Regions from separate parts of the Homo sapiens genome. Here regions 1 and 3 are each linked to region 2. The links are contacts of gene promoters, found by promoter capture Hi-C in blood cells and fetal thymus (Javierre and others, 2016). All regions are on one chromosome and are shown on one strand. Each heading gives the region's core, a stretch centred on a gene start or on the middle of the fragment in contact. The rest is flanking DNA. Distances are from core to core; before and after follow the strand shown. Region 1 overlaps NUMA1 (nuclear mitotic apparatus protein 1). Region 2 holds the start of ANAPC15 (anaphase promoting complex subunit 15). Region 3 overlaps NUMA1 (nuclear mitotic apparatus protein 1).

Evidence for each region. The method cuts DNA at HindIII sites, captures the fragments that hold promoters and counts their contacts. A CHiCAGO score of 5 or more calls a contact.
Region 1: a fragment that was not itself captured here is called in contact with the fragment with the promoter of ANAPC15 in region 2 in 9 of 17 cell types (total CD8 T cells, naive CD4 T cells, naive CD8 T cells and 6 more); the score reaches 10.2 in total CD8 T cells.
Region 3: a contact is called between a fragment that was not itself captured here and the fragment with the promoter of ANAPC15 in region 2, in 11 of 17 cell types (naive CD4 T cells, total CD8 T cells, non-activated CD4 T cells and 8 more). The highest score is 13.9, in naive CD4 T cells.

What each region holds. Positions count from the first base shown.
Region 1 is chr11:72,020,668-72,023,855 of GRCh38, forward strand. It overlaps NUMA1 (nuclear mitotic apparatus protein 1), which reads right to left. Exons shown (of 27, transcript NM_006185.4): 6 at 2,398-2,480; 7 at 1,672-1,752; 8 at 537-624. NUMA1-AS1 (NUMA1 antisense RNA 1) reads left to right here. Exons shown (of 4, transcript NR_104178.2): 4 at 1-252. Among named protein-coding and RNA genes, the nearest start is that of NUMA1-AS1, 8.0 kb to the left of the region's middle. The HindIII fragment of the contact is 768 bases long and covers 1,251-2,018 here.
Region 2 is chr11:72,111,445-72,114,476 of GRCh38, forward strand. It overlaps ANAPC15 (anaphase promoting complex subunit 15), which reads right to left and starts at 1,251. Exons shown (of 6, transcript NM_014042.3): 1 at 1,206-1,251; 2 at 1-52. RefSeq lists enhancers at 521-1,058, 730-899, 1,059-1,596, 1,070-1,129, 1,230-1,289 and 1 more and a silencer at 1,260-1,477. The HindIII fragment of the contact is 5,139 bases long and covers 1-3,032 here.
Region 3 is chr11:72,037,749-72,041,036 of GRCh38, forward strand. All of the region lies in intron 2 of NUMA1 (nuclear mitotic apparatus protein 1), which reads right to left. Among named protein-coding and RNA genes, the nearest start is that of NUMA1-AS1, 25 kb to the left of the region's middle. RefSeq lists enhancers at 2,485-2,564, 3,045-3,288. The HindIII fragment of the contact is 1,004 bases long and covers 1,537-2,540 here.

The DNA.
Region 1 (3,188 bases), core at 385-2,884, 90 kb before region 2:
TTCGAGACCAGCCTAATCAACATGGTGAAACCCCGTCTCTACAAAAAATACAAAAATTAGCCAGGTGTGGTGGCATGCGCCTGTAATCCCAGCTACTCGGGAGGCTAAGCAGGAGAATTGCTTGAACACGGGAAGTGGAGATTGCAGTGAGCTGAGATCGCACCACTACACTCCAGCCTGGGCGACAGAGAGAGACTCTGTCTCAAAAAAAAATAAAAATAAAAATAAAAAGACTGTATTCTCAGCTTCTAAGCCTAGAGTAATGATTGTTTAAAAAATAAAAAACAAAAGTAGGTATGATCACTTGTAAATATCCTACATAACTGCTGCCAGGCAGCAAGGAGGAGCTCCATAGGAACTGAGATGATACAACATGGCCCAGAAATCGACCTACTCCATTACACACACTTTTCCTGAGCATCAACTCTGCCTTGTGTTGGGGACAGAAACAAACCCCCACCATACTTGACAACTCAGGATCCTAGTATTCCCCATTTCAGAGATGAGGGGATTCTCAGGAGTGTGTACCTACTTACCTTTCTGTAGGAAGTTCTCTAGGTCCTCATTAAGGTTTAGCCCGTCCTCATGGTCCAGCACAAATTTAAGAATGACAGCCAACTCAGCCTGGGCCACAGGGAGAAAAAGAGCATCACTTAGGTGTTAGGCCTCTGAAGGGATGGCTGCCAGGAGCTCCACCCTGGCAGTGCCAGTCCCCGGCTCCCTCATGCCCTAGGAGCCTGCTGGATCCCATTCTCCCTCTCAGAGCTGAGGTCCTATGACCCAGCCAACAACATTCAACTAGAGATATGTTCACCCCACTTGTCCCCTTCCCTCCCACCTCCCCTCAAGATGTACCGAAGTCAGAGTTCCTGACTGACTTAACTCCTGACCACAAGTGAAGTGACTGTTAAGGAAAGTAACACAATCAGAAAGTTGCTTTTATTGTTATTGTTGTTAAGAAACAAGATCTTGCTCTGTCACCCAGGCTGGAGTACAGTGGCACAATCATAGCTCACTATAACCTCCAACTCCTGGAGTCAACTCCTCCTCCTCAGCTCCCCAAGTAGCTAGAACTACAGACACACACTGCCACACCCAGCTCATTTTTTTTAAAAAAAATATTTTTTGTTGAGACAGGGTCTCGCTATGTTACCCAGGCTGATCTTGAACTCCTGGCCTCAAGCAATCCTCCTGTCTCGGCCTCCCAAAGTGCTGGGACTATAGGCGTGAGCCACCACGCCCGGCCAGGAAGCTTTTATATATAACTATGTTGGCCTCTTCCAGATGACCCTACCAGAGGAAAGGATGAGATAAATGAAGTGAAAGTTCTGTGGGGGAAAAAAAACACACACACACAGAAACACATATAGGAACAGAGAATAATTTCTACGTATTATCCTAAAACACATTACAGTTAAACATATGCACATAAAAAAGGACTTGAAAGTACATCCTTTAAAAAGTTAGCAAACTCTGGGAATGAGTTTATCGGCAACTGTTATTTCCTCCTGCATGCTTTTCAACGTTTCCCAGACTTTCTATGATGAATGGCAATAATTGCTATAACTGTATTTTTAAAAAGTCCAGTATCTGCTGTTCAAAGAAAAACAAGTCAGGTGAGGTGAAGCATGGGCTAGGCCTGCTAGGTGGCATGGAGGCACAAGGGCTTACCTGAATTTTATATTCAAACTGTTCCCAGTCCCTGGGACTTTTGGAGCTCATGGTAGAGTGGTATAAGAGCAGCATGGTCATCTAGAAGCCAAACAGGAGGCAGTCACTGAGTGGGGCTGTCTCTCTTCTCAGTGCCCCCATTCTGGGCTGTTCTGGGGACTCTGAGCTATTCCGGTGACTCTTCTAAAAGTCCTGGAATTCAGCAATCCCAGGCCACCATCCTTAACAGCTCCAGGAAACACTTTTTTTTTTTTTTTTTAATTAAGGATAGTGTACACTGTACAAAAAGCTGAGCGCCAAGATTCCTGCATGGCTCAATTCCTGGACTCATGGAACCCTGGGTGTGAAGCTTTAGGTACCCTCTATAGGCCAGCACCCAGAAAGAGCAGAGGGAATGACTTAAGACTGAGCTATAATAAAAATATGGTGATAGCCGAATGAGACCTGATTTCTGCCAGGTCTCCACCGAGGCCCACAGTAATGGTCTAGTAAACCATTGTTTGTTTCATAATCTCTGTCATAAGATCATGGGCTCCTAGAATCCTTGGGCTAAATTAGCCTCTGTCTCAAGACAGGTGGCTGCCTGGTTCTACCTCCAACGTACTAGAGCCCCAGAAATAAAGCACCCATCATCTCCCCTTGGGTTAAGAGAAGGCCCTGCAGGGTCCCTCAGGTACCATCACCCCAACCCTGCCCTGCCTCCCCAGTCTGGTATTCCATAGGTACCTTCGCCAGTTCCAGCTCTGATCCCTCTAGCACCTTCTGTGCAGATACCAGGCATTCTGGGGAAGAGGGATGTTTTCGATTTTCTGCAATGACAACAACGTAGAAAACAGGGTGAACTTCCTGGAAACCATACCTGAGATCCCAGAACACTGAAATCTGGGGAGCAGAATGGCTATCTCTGGTGGGGCTATGAGATGTAGGCCTCCTTACTCCTATGGCCTCTTTCCCCTGCCTTACAATTTTCCATCTGAAGTCAGTTCTATCCTGGGTCAATCCAAGGGCTACAGGGATAATGGAAGAAGAAAGCAGCCTCGGAATTCACAGCAACTCTGGGTCATGATGTTGCACTCTCCCACCCACTCACCAACTCTCAGCACCACAGAGGAAGAGCCCAGAGATGCCAGGTCACTTTAGAATCCTGTTCCAACTGAGGTCACAGAGTAAACCTATAGCTGAGTCAGAAAAGGACAACTAGGGATACGTGACTCTTATACTGCCCGAGGGTCTGGGCTCAAATTACTAACACCTTACTTTATCTAAATAAAGCCTCACCTTTCCTATAATTCTCTAGGGGTGGAGATGGCAGCTAGCTCCCCATGTCAAAGACGAGGACTCTGTGGTCTAAGGCTGGACAAGGGGAGGGGAACTGAAAAGCACTGTACTAGAAGCTTTGCATGTGTTCTTATTTAATCCACCCATCCACTTGAAGAGCAGTTATCTCCATATTATAGATAGGGAACCTATGTCCAGAAAGGTCACACAAGCAGTGAGGGGGGTCAAGATCAACCTTA
Region 2 (3,032 bases), core at 1-2,500:
CTGTTTGACCTTGGCTGAGTCACTTAACCTCTCTGAGCCTCAGTGTCTTCATCTGTAAAATGGGGATAATAACAATTATACCACTGTCAAAGTTATTCTGATAATTAAGTAAATAATGGATCAACAAAGCTGTTTGCAGGCTGTTCAAGGAGGGATGAGAATGGGAGTCAAGTGTAGGGATAGGAATCCAGAATGCAGACTGGCATTATGAAATTATACAAAATTAGAGGTAGCAGGGTTCTACTGAAACTATCCCTACCTCCTCCACACACTAAAACCTGCTTTTTGACCCTTTATGATGGCCCATACCACACCCACCCAGTGTCAGAAATTTAGGACACTAACGACCTCTCATGAATCACAGCCAAATGTCGGGGTGGAGGGATTGTAGCATATGCAAGCAGGGTTCAGTAAGACATTCTAGGAGGCATGAATAAGTGGATAAATAAGTAGATGGAAGATTGAATGGATGAACTAACATTATAAGGGTACAATCAGCTTTGAGCGGCTGAGGGAGCCGACCAGGAGTGCCAGATAATCTGAATTAAACTTAGGACAGGCGAACTGAGGCCCAGCGACAGGCAGAGACTGGCTTTAGGTCATACAGTGTGTCGGGGCTTAGAATTCCTCCGTGAAAGGGATGAGCAGGAGAAAATAATCGATGCCTGGTCCTGCTTTTGTCTTAATTTATCTGACCGACCCAGGGCCAGCCGCTGCCCTTCCCTGTATCTCAGATTCCCAACCCGCGTAATTAGGCACGACGGTAAACACCCTCATGTCCAAGAAGTACTGACAGACCAGCGATCTCGGCTCCGAAAGCCCAACCCACCGTCGCAAAGCCACCGCCCTTTCTTTGCTCATTACGATAATGACCATGCAGTTGACCAACAGAAAGAAAGCAGGGCGGGTCTCAGACAGAAATTTGGCCTTATAGGGTTGCTAAACGCGAAAAAAGCGGGGCCTGGGTAGGACCAATTAACTGAAAGAAATGCTGGGTGACAGGAAGTGACACCAATGAATGACGGACCTTGTGTGACGGGGTGGGGCTTAGTCTCGAGGAAGCGGCCAATGAGCTGGAGCTCTTTAAGGGTTAAGGACTCTCAATATGGAGCTCCTGGGGAGTCGGGTCAAAGGAAATGGGTTTCTCTGGGGGAAAAAGGAATGAAGGGGCAAGGAGACGGTTGCAGCCTTGCGTCTGTACTTACCGCGCCGGGAGGCTGCTGCCGGCGGCGACCCGGAAGCGCTTCACCCAGCCTGAGCGGAAGAACCCACCAGAATCCGGGACTCACCAAACGCATGCGTCCTTCGTCTCCTTTTGTTTTCCCCGCTCCCGCCCACTAAACCGGATGTGACGTTGACCTACCTTAGTCACATTGTTAGGGAAGGAAGTGTGCCGCGCCTACCTATCTGCCCCGCCTTGAGTCTCAGCCAGTCGGCGTCTCCATCCTGGCGCCAGCACTACGGTCTCGTTTAACCACTGCCCCGTTTAACCCCTGCCCTTTTGTTGCCAGTCACCATTTGCTTGTTAACCCCTTCTGAAGAAGAGCTGACAGCAACCTTTTAGTGCGAGGGCCATTCGTCCTGCTGCATCCCAGAAAACTAATCTGTTACTACTTCAGAATTGCTGGTTGATGTTAGGCCCCTCCTATCTGTGCTCTCTCAGCTACAGTTTCCCGTTTGAGCATATTCATTCTTTTTTATTTTTGCTCTGAACAAAAATATTAGAGTTACAATATTACTATATTCCAGGCCTTGCTAGAAACTGGGGATAAATCTAGGAATATGGTCGCTTCCCTGGAAGACCTCACAGTCCAGGGAAGCCAAACCCTGCAGACATGCAGTAGACTTAGTGGTCTCTCTTAAGGTTGCTTGTTGAGTTTTGACATTGGAGATTATGTACAGACTTGAATGACTAGTTAGCCTCAGGCACAGCATTCTGTTGCTGGGGGAATCAGCTGCCCTCCTCAGGCCTGGGCCAAGTACACTTAGAGATCGCCCTCGTCACCTCTCCCATCCTTTGCTGATGCCTCTGTTCTAGTAACCTCTGACTCAGCTTCGCCTTTAGAGATACTCATGCTTTCTGGCAACAGAGGTCCTTCAAACCCAATTCCTATTAAACTCCATCACTTACCAGCCTCTTTCAGGGACAGCAGTTATCCGCATTTCCAGTACTGTCCTGGCCAGATGTGTGAGTTTTGGCAATTCCTTTTCCTCTCTCTGGACTCAGCTTCTTTGTCAACCAGCATCATAATCTCTGCCCAGCCTTCCTTCTATCCTGGGCTGATGTGAAGATTGGATAAGAATTGTTCAAGAGGTCGTGTACTGTGCATATTGAATGTGATTATATTGCCAAATAGCACTGTTTGTTATAGTTTTTCATTAAAGAGTAAACTTTGCCTCTTGGAAATGACTACCTTTTTCATTCATTCAACAAATACCTACTGAGTGCCTTAGTATATGTCCATCACTATTCTTAGTAGTGGGTATACAATAGTAAACAAAACAGACCAAAAAAGTCCCTCTTTTCATGCAGCCTTCATTCTGAGAGAGGTAAACAATAAAGAAGATAGATAAATAAAATATGTAGTTGTAAGATTGCAGTAAATAAGAGAAAAAATAAATCTGAGAAGTGGGAATAAAATATTTGCAGGGGAGGTGTTTTATTTCAGACTGGGGGGCCAAAGTCACTGGGAAGGTGACTTTTGAGTAAAGGTCTGAAGGAGCAGAGAGCCTTCTGATATTTGTGGAAGAGCATTTCAGAGAGAGAGAATACAAGTGCAGAGGGCCTAGAATGGCTTGGGCATAGTGTCCTCTAGGGAGAGTAATAGGTAGGAGATGAGGAGTTGGGGAGCCAGTGGAGGGTTGTGAGCACAGGGTCCACACAATCTGATTTACAGTTTAACTGAGTTACTCTGGCTGTTCTCCAAATAGACTGGGGTAGGGGAGACAATGGCAGAAGCAGGGAGACCATTTGGGAGCCTATTATGATAATCTAGAGGTAGTGGATGAGAAGTGGTTGAATTCTGAATTTA
Region 3 (3,288 bases), core at 789-3,288, 73 kb before region 2:
TGGAATTGAGCCAATTCACCTGGGCTTTGGCAAGGGCAAATGAAATGGTTAAGAGAGCTCTCAGGAGGGCAGAAAAGCTAAGGGGCTTATGTTCCTCAGTCTTGGATAATTATCATCAAGTATACCCTATCCATGGGCAAGATTATGTAGCCCTTGAGGCCAGGCATGGATGGATGCAGATAGCCCCAACTACTGCACTGCAATAAGGCTTTTCTGTGGCTGACAAGACTAAAGCTCGAGGGACCACACTTGGCTCTGTGGTGGGGCGGCAACAGCCAGACACTCAACTGGGGTTTCTTTAAAAAAAAGGCCTCTGAGCTATTAAATCACAAGGAATGAGGCTGAGATCACCGCTCCCCCATCCTCACTGCTGCCTATAGACTTGCAGTCCTTTTGATGAGGCCCAACACTTCGAAATTTTATCTGCAACTGTAGGCAGATCTTGCCCCCTTTGAAAGACTCACAGCTGTGCTACTAAAAATGTCCTGAGGTTTAACCAACCTCTTCATCTCAGAGGCAAAACATACAACCCTGAGGTCCTCCCAGGAGAGCCTGTCTAAAACTAGTTCCACTGTTCAAGAAAATGAGTGTCAAGGCTAAATATTCTTTTCTGTGTTCCCCAGGCACAGAAATACGAGGAACCCAATATTCACCACTAGGAACTCCTGAAGGACCTTGTCTGCTCTTCAGTTCTAAGCCTGTAAAGAGGTACTTTCCTAGAGACAGAACATCAGGGTGAGAGAGGCTTCAGGAGAGCCCCAGCCATTCCCTCTTCTCTGGGTAAGGAATGACTGAAGCCAGGAGCACAGCTAAGTCTTCTACATTGGGACTATAGCTTTAAGCAGACTTTGGCTGGGAACCCAAGGGCTCCCAGCCAGAGTACCATCCTCCCCACCCTCCCCCTGAAATCTGAGGCAGGCCCCACCCAGTACACTGGGTGATGCTGATGGAAAAACAGATCCTTGCGATTGTAGCCTGGAACCATTTCACAGAAGGATCTGCTGAGATCCACCCCAGCTGGATCAGGCACCCCCCGTCCCCCCCACAACCCTCACTCAATAAACAAAGAAACAAAAGGCCAGGCCCTCTGAGGGCACCTTTGGAGTTCCCATCTACCTGATTCTCTGAGAAAGAAATTCCCCCAGAATCTAAAACAGAGGCCTCACCGAGCTGGTAAGGCACCCTCTCTTTTCCCTGGTCTCAAGAAGTAACCAAGGACACAGAAGCAGTTGCGTTATAAACTTAAGGCCCTGCATCCTTTTTACATTTCCCAAACTGACACAATGCAGCTCCCCCACATCAGGACAAATTCCCACATTTACAGTAACCCCTGTTTCCAGAAAATAAATATCAAGATAAGGAAAGTGACACTAAAGAGACACGCAGCCACTCTGCCTGTACCCTCTCTGGACCTTAAAGAGTTAAAGCCTAGCCATGATTTCCTACCAGGGCTGAGGCTAATGTAAACCACCTGCTCAGACACAAGAAGCAGGACCAGAGGGTCAAGTTGCTGAGCTCTGAAGTCTGTTCTGAAAAAGCTTCAGTTTTAAGTACAGAACAAGTGATAGGCCAAAGGCCAGAGGGTCTGAGCTGCAGCAGCACTGCTCTCCTTACCCCGCCCTTGGCCTGGGTGCCAGCTCCTTTGAGACTGCCTCTTAGCCACTTACTGCCCATCAAGGGAACACCAGACCTACCTCAAGATAACACCAAAGTGACCTTTGGTCCCAGAGAGTTGTTAAACTATACCGATCTCTCAGCTCATGGGCCCTTGCTTCTGCTGAACCCTCATTCTCTTAGTGCTAACTCCCACTCCCAGAATTTCAGGGCCCAAAGCCCACACAAGCTCCCACCTCAAAGGGTCCTTCCCAGAACCCCACCCCCTTCTCCACCTGATAGTTCCAAAGGCCTACAGCCTCACAGCTCACAAAGGAAATGGCTGCCCCATCTGTGCGCCAGTGCTCACTTGCAAAATTTACCACCACTTACCCTGAGACGCTGCCTGCCTGTAGCCTAAGAATTCCATGCTCTGTACCCCTTTCTTAGAAAGATACTCCCCATCTGAGAGACACTCACATCCAAAGAGTGAAAACCCTGATCTTGGGGCTCCTCCTCCTCCAACTCTAGGACGGATAGGCCAGGAGGCACATGCAAGCAAACACCGAGATCTCACCTGGCAGGTTACCCAGAGGGGCCAAGCCACCTTGCCCTAGGCTAATAAGCTATAAAAACAGCATAGGAAATACTTTGCTGGTACATCCCCTGCCTCTGAGAAGATAAAAGGCAAGAGGACCAGTGGCTCCAAGAGACGCCATACAGAGAAAAACAATCTTTCTCAATTCCTGGGGAGTCCTGGGTAGACCGTCTGGTCCAAGTCCAAAGAGTTTCCTGAGGTCGGGGCAAACCAGTTTGGTCCATCTAAAGGGACTAGCTTGGGCTGAAGCCTCCTCTTCACACAGACCACTCCATCTTTGTAGCCTAGAGTTTGGCACAGAACCCCAAAGCCCTGGAGAGGAACAAGGGAGGGATTACAGAGGAAACCAAGCTTCTCTGGTTTCTTCAAAAGTGGCTTACAGATGTCTGCCCCTTCTCCCCGTTCTCTGGAGGGTCCAGATCAGGATGATGGCAAAAGAGCTGCAATCAGGAACCAGACCTGCAACCAGGCCTGCAGCCATGTATTGTACTGGGGCGCGTACACATACACACACACACACACACACACACACACACACACACACACACACACACACACACACACACACACACTGACCTGGGCCCCCCACCACTATATTCACACACCCTGGTCCCTATCAGCTGACAAAATGAACCTTTTTTCACTGCCCACCACCGTGCACACACCCACGGCCTCACGCAGAAATGGTGAAGCCCTCTCCTGAGCTGTCTCTACAGCTCAACGTGCAGGCAAACACGCTTTCCTTCTCTGAACAAAAACATGCTGACATCTACGCAAGGGGGAAAGAAAGCAACCCTTTGCTCTGAAAGGCGCCAACTCCCGGATGTTGGCAAGCTCTGCTCCACAGCGCCTGTTTCTGAGTATGTTTACTTGCTCTCCCTCTTCTCTCCCTCCCCTTTAAGGATGGCGCAGGAAAGGGAGGTGAGGGGGGAGAATCCACCCCACCCCCTCGTCCATGTTTGAACAAAAACCCAGAGAAAGAGTGAGGGAGAAAAAGTCTCGGTGCGGGGGGGCCTTACCAGACTCCTAAAGCCAAACGTATCTACAGGTTTTAATCCGCCATTAGCATTTAAATCTTGAAAGGAGAGGAGGAAGGG